2 separate regions of the Homo sapiens genome follow, and region 1 is linked to region 2. The links are contacts of gene promoters, found by promoter capture Hi-C in blood cells and fetal thymus (Javierre and others, 2016). All regions are on one chromosome and are shown on one strand. The core of a region is centred on a gene start or on the middle of the fragment in contact, and the rest is flanking DNA. Distances in the headings are between cores, read along the strand shown. Region 1 holds the start of EIF2B5 (eukaryotic translation initiation factor 2B subunit epsilon). Region 2 holds the start of HTR3E (5-hydroxytryptamine receptor 3E).

The links. The method cuts DNA at HindIII sites, captures the fragments that hold promoters and counts their contacts. A CHiCAGO score of 5 or more calls a contact.
Region 1: a contact is called between the fragment with the promoter of EIF2B5 here and the fragment with the promoter of HTR3E in region 2, in 1 of 17 cell types (neutrophils). The highest score is 5.2, in neutrophils.

Annotation. Positions count from the first base shown.
Region 1 is chr3:184,133,767-184,137,272 of GRCh38, reverse strand. It overlaps EIF2B5 (eukaryotic translation initiation factor 2B subunit epsilon), which reads right to left and starts at 1,915. Exons shown (of 16, transcript NM_003907.3): 1 at 1,693-1,915; 2 at 537-661. The coding sequence starts at 1,887. It overlaps EIF2B5-DT (EIF2B5 divergent transcript), which reads left to right and starts at 2,012. Exons shown (of 2, transcript NR_183721.1): 1 at 2,012-2,737; 2 at 2,995-3,506. RefSeq lists enhancers at 1,566-1,635, 1,956-2,015, 2,885-3,506 and a silencer at 1,706-1,815. The HindIII fragment of the contact is 10,653 bases long and covers 1-2,767 here.
Region 2 is chr3:184,094,143-184,099,036 of GRCh38, reverse strand. It overlaps HTR3E (5-hydroxytryptamine receptor 3E), which reads right to left and starts at 1,973. Exons shown (of 9, transcript NM_001256613.2): 1 at 1,441-1,973. The coding sequence starts at 1,507. It overlaps HTR3E-AS1 (HTR3E antisense RNA 1), which reads left to right. Exons shown (of 3, transcript NR_133658.1): 3 at 3,687-3,919. The HindIII fragment of the contact is 4,461 bases long and covers 1-2,246 here.

The DNA.
Region 1 (3,506 bases), core at 666-3,165, 38 kb before region 2:
ACATTTAGGAACTGTCTGATGGAGACCATGCTAATGTCCTAGTCTTTACATCCTGGACTTCCATAAGCAATGCGATTCCCTAGTTTTCAAGATTTCAACAAACATGTAAGTGCTCACTATATGCTTGGGACTGAGCTAGGCAGTGGGAATACAAAGATGACAAGGAGCTCATTTATATCCTTGAAGGTGAGAACAAACAAGATTTAGAAACTCAGTGGGAAAACAAAGATGTTATCATTGTAACTTCCATACTGAAGCCATTAAATAAAAGCAAAGTCCACTGGCACCAAACTTTATAATGAGATTCAGAAAAAACCCAAGTTTATTCTTTAATCTTTGTCACAGAAAACCCAAGACAGACAGATACAAAGTTTCAGCTGCTCACCTCCTGATAAGTGTAGAAAATACCCTTAGAACTTACAATGACATCTAAGTAGACACATTTTTCCCCTCTCACATTTCCCCTTAGTTACATTCATCCTGAAAAAACTGGAAAAAGATGGCGAAACATGGAAAGAAAAGTTGCAGGGCCTTACAGTAAATGTTCTTTGATTTGAGCAGCTTTCCAGCAACAAAAGACAAATGTTTCCTGTACACCTGTGGCAGTCAGGAATTCCAGAGTGTAGTCAATTAATGCCACATTGGCCAGGGGCAAGAGGACCTGAAGGATACAAGATGAAAAAAAACTTGAGGTCTCGAATCCCTTTGGGTACCCCACTGCAACAATTTTCACTCCTCTATTCGTATTTCCAAACAGTGTAATTTTGCTGTATCTTTCCAATTCAAAGATAAACAGGTTCCTGCCTTTGATGTTCATGCCATGCTCTAAGCCTGAGTCTGAGACATTGCAATTTGGGGATGGTAAGTACAGAATCTATGTGCCTTGTATCAGACACAGAGCTGTGACAGAATGGCAGTTCACTGCTGGCAAAGGATAATACTGGAAATCAATCATATTTCCATAAATTTAAGCATTGCTAAGGCCTTCTTCCCCATAAGATTTCCTTCCTTGATCCCTTTCTAAGTGTCAGAGGTTAGCCATCTCCCGTCACTTGTCAAAAATGAACAGCCATTAGGCTTTTTCGAGGGAATTAGAGAGGATTTTCCTTAAATCCAATGCAGTTCCCTCTTTCTGAACTGACTGCTGAACGACCCAGCTGAGTCCAATACCCCATTGTCTAGACAACTCGGGGGCTGATGGCAATCAACCACTAAACCCATTTTGTCCTTTCGACAGATAGCACCGGCTATCATTAGAACCTGGAAGGAAAAAAAAAATACACTGCCTGAGATCTAGCCCGCTCTTTTTAAGGCATATTACCGCCCTTTCAGAGGCAAAAGGTCGTTTCTTTTCACCTAAGCAACCGTCATCGGCAAGGTTAAAAGCGGCGCAGCCTCTTCTAGGGGCACTGAATCCCCGCGTGAAGGCTTCTCTCAAGCGCTGTTTCTACATTTAGCTCTCTTCATTCCTTTCAAACCCGAGGTGGACAGCATTACGAATGCCCAAATCTGCCGGCCACTAACTTGGTCAGCAGTCATCAGGGTTTAGACAGTCCCTCTGCATCCGGTTTTAGGATAACAGCATAGACGCAGGTCCTTCAAGGGCATGCTGTTGTAGTTAGCCGAAATGAGAACTTGCTCCAGCCCTGCCACCCTTCCTGCCCTCTGGCTGCTCGCGTGCGCGGCGCTCACCCGAGGCTGGTCCTTGGAGATGGGGAAGAAGCGGCGATCGAAGCTATCGGCCACCAGAACTGCTTGTAGGGGCGGCGGCGGTTCCTCCTCCGCCCCTCTGGCTCCCCCGCCACCGCTGCCTCCCGGCCCCGCGCCGCTGCGCTTGTTAGCCCGACTAACCACCACACCAGGCGGCGCCACTACAGGGGCCGCCATCTTCTTCTCTCACGGTCACCACTTCCGCAAGGAAGCTGCCACCGCACGCAGTAGGGGACAAAAAGGATCCAGCACTTGAAATGCGATGGACTAATTAACGAAGGGAAGGAGACGAGGAGGGAGCAGTGCGCATGCGTCTTCCCCGGGAGCCCACAGGGGTCTGAGGTTGATCCCGGAGGCGCGAGGAGTCGGTACGGGTCACGGTTGTCCCGGCCCCTGAGGCGCAGGGTAGGAGTGGGGTCCCATAGATGTCAGACTCGGTCTGCAAGTATCGTCGGCCTTCATTTGTAGGTGAACAAGCCGAGATTCTTGTGGCGTGATAGGACTTGTGGTCGCCACGAAGGGGCCAGCTCCATCGGGAATCTGTAATCGCCCAGCAGTTTCCCCGCCCCGCGCATGTGAAATATGTAGCCCTCCGTATTCATTCTAGAAACTTCTGGGAACCCAGCGCCTTGGGGAGATAGAACCGAGCCAGATGTTCCCCCGCTGCGAGGAACTCAGAACCTGCATAAATAGAGAAGGTGGCAGGCATATAGTAGGGAGACCAGTAATTCCATTGAGCGCTGATTTTGGGCCAGGCACGATACAAGCATTATCTCTGCAAAACATCTTATTCATTCGTTCAGCAAACGTTTCTTGAACTCTCAGAAGGATGAAGGAAGTTTACCCAGCTAGTAAGTGGAAGAACTGGTATTGGAACCCGATCTGTCTGACTGCAGAGTTCCACAATCTTGCTGCCAAGTTATGTGGGGATAACAATGACTATTTTATGTCATCTATTCATTCTTCCAGCCTATCAGCCTCCTGTGTCTTAAGCAGAGTGGAGACGGGGGTGGATCCAGGCGCACCAGTAAGTTGTACTGGAGTTAAGCAGTAAGCTTTCTGGGCAGAGGAAAGTGCGGGCGTAAAGGTCCAAGGCTTGAAAAGGCGCAGCAGCACCTTTTTCTCTTTGGGGAAAGAAGCGGTGGCTGCGGGGAATAAACCAACTCTGTAGAGGGGCGGGGCCGTGGGAAAGCGGTGGAACGGGGCAGGAAGGCTGGGCGTCATTTGGGAGGCAAGGAACTTTTCTGTAAGGCATAGCGCCCTTTCTGCACGGGACCTGTCCAGGTTCCACGCCACAGGCTTCTGCAGTTCCTGCAAACTGTTCCCATCCCGCCCCGCGTTGCACGTCGGGATTTGGAGTTCGCGATGCTGAGAGCTGTTTCCACGTGGCGATTCCGACTTGACCCGTCGTGCTCCGGCGCCCGCCTAGGGGGACCGAGGAGTTTGTCATTTCTTGCCTCGTTAGGGTGCGGAACGAAAACCATTTGATTTATCCTAGAAAAGGAAAGGCTGAAGCCAACTAAGTAAAAGTTTTCCATTAAATGAATGCACGTTGTAGAAAAGGAATGTTCAACTGCCCTACAAATCCAGAGGTAGAAATGGGGGAGGGGAGAAGGAATTAAATAGGACACACACACACACACACAAACACACACACACACACACTCTTGGGGGGGTGTTTGGGTATGGAAAGTAGGTCCGATTGCAGAATTTATTTTAAATGATTCCCGCAACCTTGGGAAGTTGGGAAGTGGTGAATCCGCTGCCGAAAGGCATTTGTGCTTATGGTAAATCCA
Region 2 (4,894 bases), core at 724-3,223:
GAGTCTCACTCTGTCACCCAGGCTGGAGTGCAGTGGTGCGATCTTGACTCACTGCAATCTCTGGCTCCCAGGTTCAACCGATTCTTCTGCCTCAGCCTCCCAAGTAACTGGGATTACAGGCACTACCACCACATCAGGCTAGTTTTTGTATTTTTAGTAGAGATGGGGTTTCACCATGTTAGCCAGGCTGGTCTTGAACTCTTGACCTCAGGTGATCCGCCTGCCTCAGCGTCCCAAGTGCTGGGATTACAGGTGTGAGCCACCTCACCTGACCCGTCCCACCCTCTTCTAACTAATAAATTTTTAAATTTTCTAGTCATGAAAATGTGTTGGAGGAGCAACAACTTGGACTGAGAGAGATGGTTGATAACCTCTGTGCCAAGGACATTGAGCCTTATCCATTCCCAACGTCACAGTGCTTTCCAGCAAATTCTTAAACCACTCTAAGAACAGTGAATATTCATTTGTCAACCCCTGTGTGCAAGTGCCCAGAGGAGCTTTCATAACCATTTACACTGCCTAGACCAGGTGTACAATTTGTGTCTCTTCCCTGTGCTGGCCTTTAAAGTCACCTCTGGTTCAGTCCTCTCCTGTGCCTCCTTATCCAAAGTCATGGAATAATCTAACGAGGAGAGATGACAGTTATTGGCACTTTTACCAAGTGCCAGACACTGTGCTTCCCTCCTTCTCTTACTGAATCCTCACAACCCTGCAAGGTAGGTTCTGTTTTACAGATGAGGAAACCAGAGCTCAGATAAGTTAAGCAGTGCATCCAAGTTTATAAAACTAGCAACGTGAGACACCAAGATTCAAACCCAGGTCCACCTGTCTCCAAATCCCATGTTCTTGTCTCTCTACCATGCTGACCCCCTGGAAGAGAAGCACATTCTACTTTCACCCTTGACCTGCTGCCTTCTGGCACCTTACCTAACCTAGAGCCCTTGGATCCAGCAGATGGACAGGGAAATTATGGCTAAAGGAGGTGGGCACTTTGCTACAATGGTTTGGGTTTCATACCTGTAGAGAGAAAGAATTACACCTGTGGATAGAAAGATGGATGGATATAGAAGCTAAATACAAGAGAAGACGATCGTGGATGGTTGTCTTCCATGTAGGGTACCAATGGAGAAAAGACAGACTTTTCAAGTAGTATTGGGAAAACTGGATATCCATATGTGAAAGGATAAAGTTTGCTGGTGTTGAACTCTATTTTTCGAGAAGGAAAATGAAAGTGCTCTTGTTTGGCATGTAACTGGAAGGGGATTTTCCGTCTTTCAGAAAAGGAAAGTCTATGTGGGCATCTTAGTAATGTAGCTATGAAAGAACTCTATCCATCTTAGACAATCTCTAGGAGTTGGAAATTTGAAAAAAGTTCCTAGATGTTCTACTAGAGAGAGGTCCTCCTTCTTCCGCCTTCCCCCATCATTGCTCCTTTCTTACCTTGAAGCAGAAAACCGAGAAGGAGGTAGAAGGAAAATCTTTTCCTGTGGAACCAGCTTCCTTCCATCTTCTTTGTCTAAGTTCTTCTCTGAACATGTACTGGGACCCAGGAATGCCCAGATTAAAGCAGCACAGGCCACACCTAGAGTCTGACTTTGAATACTAATAGCATTGGTTGACCACTGACATTTGTAACCTTCCTTCAAAGAGTGTTCTGGTTGTCTTGTTCTTGCCTATGCTTAAGGTTCAGTCTGCTTTTAAGACTTTATCTTAGTCTTAGGTATTTCACTGCAACGTAAATGGTTATAGATAGTTCATACGTGATCAACTTGCAGATCTTGGTGAGATCCCTTGGTCTGAAGACTCATCTCTTCAATTTTGGAAAATTCTCAGACATTTATAAATGTTTCACTTCCTCTATTTTTCTTATTAGACATGTGTTGAATGGTTTCCTTCTATCTTACATGCCTTTTATTGCTGTTGTAACAAATCACAAACCCAGTGGCTTAAATAAACACAATTTGTTATTTTACTGTTCTGTGGGCCAGAAGTTTGAAATGGGTCTCACTGGGCTAAAATGAATGTGTCAGCAGGACCGCATTCCCTCTGGAGGCTCTAGAGGAGAATCCATTTCCTTGCCTTTTCCAGATTTTTTTTTTTTTGAGACAGGGTTTCACTCTGTTGACCAGGCTGGAGTGCAGTGGCGCAATCGCGACTCACTGCAGCCTTGACCTCCTGGGCTCAAGGGATCTTTCCGTCTCAGCCTCCCAAGTAGCTGGGACCTCACAGGTGTGAGCCACCAAGCTTGGCTATTTTTTTTTTTTTTAGTAGAAATGAGGTCTCGCTTTGTTGCCTAGGCTTGTCTCCAACTCCTGGCCTCAAGTGATCCTCCAACCTTGATCTCCCAAAGTGCTGGGATTATAGACATGAGCCATTGTACCCGGCCTTTTCCAGCTTTTAAACTGCCTGTATTTCTTGGTTCATTATTTTTACTTCTCCATCTTCAAAACCAGCAACATCAGGCCAATGTTTCTCACAAGGCATCTCATCTCTCTGGTTCTTATTTGTTTCTCTCTCCTTCTTCCACTTATAAGAGCCTTTGTGATTGCATTGTGTCCATTTGGATAATCCAGGATAGTCTCCCCATCTCAAAGTCCGATAATTAACAACCTTAATTCCATCTGCAACCTTAACTCCCCTTTTCCATATAACCTAAGGTTCCAGAGATTAGGATGTGGACAAATTCTGGGGGCCGTTATTCTGCCTAGCACACCTCTCTTTCCTATTTTCTACCTCTTTATCTCTGTCCCTAATGATTTCTTCAGATCTAGCTTCCAGGAAAAAAATTCTCTCCTCAACTGTGTTTATTTTAATTAATTAATTAATTAATTTTTGATGAAACTCAGTAATTTTTATTGCAACTGGAAGACAATACATTGCAGAAACTTTATGGTAGGTCTGGGGAAAAGTGTTATTTACAATAGATTATGACATAATTTGTCTTTGACAATATGATTACATACGAAGAATGCAAAATGCAAGTATGGATGCCTTCCATATTTTATTTTATTTTGAGATGGAGTCTCATTCTGTTGCCCAGGCTAGAGTGCAGTGGCGTGATCTTGGCTCACTACAGCCTCCACCTCCTTGATTTGAGCGATTCTCCTGTCTCAGCCTCCTGAGTAGTTGGGACTACAGGCTTGTGCCACCACACCCAGCTAATTTTTGTATTTTTATTAGAGACAGGGTTTCACCATGTTGTCCAGGCTGGTCTTGAACTCCTCACCTCAGCTGATCTGCCCACCTCGGCCTTCCAAAGTGCTGGGATTACAGGAGTGAGCCACTGTGCTTGACCCTCAACTGTGTCTAATCTGTCCATCTAATCTGCCCACTGAGTTTTGGTTTTGTTTTTTTGTTTTTTTGTTTTTTAGAGAGAGGGTTTCACTGTCTCCCACCATGCCTGGCCCTCAACTGTGAGCCACCATGCTGGGATTACAGACGTGAGCCACCGTGCCCGGCCCTCAGCTGTGTCTAATCTGTCCACTGAGTTTTGCTTTTTGTTTTGTTTTGTTTTTTTTAGAGACAGGGTCTCACTGTCTCCCAGGCTGGAGTACAGTGGTATGATCATAGCTCACTGTAGCCTTGAACTCCAGGGCTCAAGCAATCCTGCCACCTCAGCCTCCCAAGTAGCTGGGACTACAGGTGCATGCCACCATGTGTGGCTAATTTTTTTTTATTGTTTCTAGAGACAGGGCCTTGCTATGCTGCCCAGGCTGGTGTTGAACTCCTGGCCTCAAGCAATCCTCCTGCCTCAGCCTCCCAAATCACTGGAATTTACAGGTATGAACCACTATGGCTAACCTTTTACCCATTTTTAAATCAAGTTGTTTTTTGTTGTTGAGTTTCAGGAATTCTATGTATAGTTTGGATATTAATCCCTTATCAGCTATATAATTTGCAAATGTTTTCTCCCATTTTGTGGGTTGTCTTCTTTCCTCTGTTAATAGTGTCTTTTGATTCATAGATGTTTAATATTTTCATGAAGTACTATTTGTCTATTTTTTCTTTTGTTGCCTATGCCTTTGTGTCATATCCAAGAAATCACTGCTAACTCCAATGTTTTGAAGCTTTTTCCCTATGTGTTCTTTTAGGAGTTTTATTGTTTTAGGTCTACACTTAAATCTTCTTTTTTTTTTTTGAGACGGAGTTTCACTCTTGTTGCTCAGGCTGAGTGCAATGGCATGATCTCAGCTCACTGCAACCTCCACCTCCTGGGTTCAAGTGATTCTCCTGCCTTAGCCTCTCAAGTAGCTGGGATTACAGGCATGTGCCACTACCCCCAGCTAATTCTGTATTTTTAGTAGAGACGGGGTTTCTCCATGTTGGTCAGGCTGGACTCGAACTCCCCACCTCAGGTGATCTGCCCGCCTCAGCCTCCCAAAGTGCTGGGATTACAGGAGTGAGCCACCGCGTCCAGCCCTACATGTAAAATATTTTATCCATTTTGAGTTAATTTTGGTATATGGTTTTAGGTAAGGGTCAAACTTCATTTCTTTGCATATGGATATCCAGTTTTCCCAATACTACTACTTGAAAAGTCTGTCTTTTCCCCATTGGAACTCTTGCAAAAATAATTTGGCCATTTGTGTGACGGTTTATTTCTGGGTTCTCTATTCTATTCCATTGCTATACATGTCTGTCTCTTTTTTTTTTTTTTTTTTTGAGACGTAGTTTCACTCTTGTTGCCCAGGCTGGAGAGAAATGGCACGATCTCCACTCACCACAAGCTCCGCCTCCCAGGTTCAAGCAATTCTCCTGCCTCAGCCTCCCGAGTAGCTGGGATTACAGGCATGCTCCACCATGCCTGGATAATTTTTTGTATTTTTAGTAGAGATGGGGTTTCTCCATGTTGGTCAGGCTGGCCTTGAACTCCCAACCTCAGGTGATCCGTCTG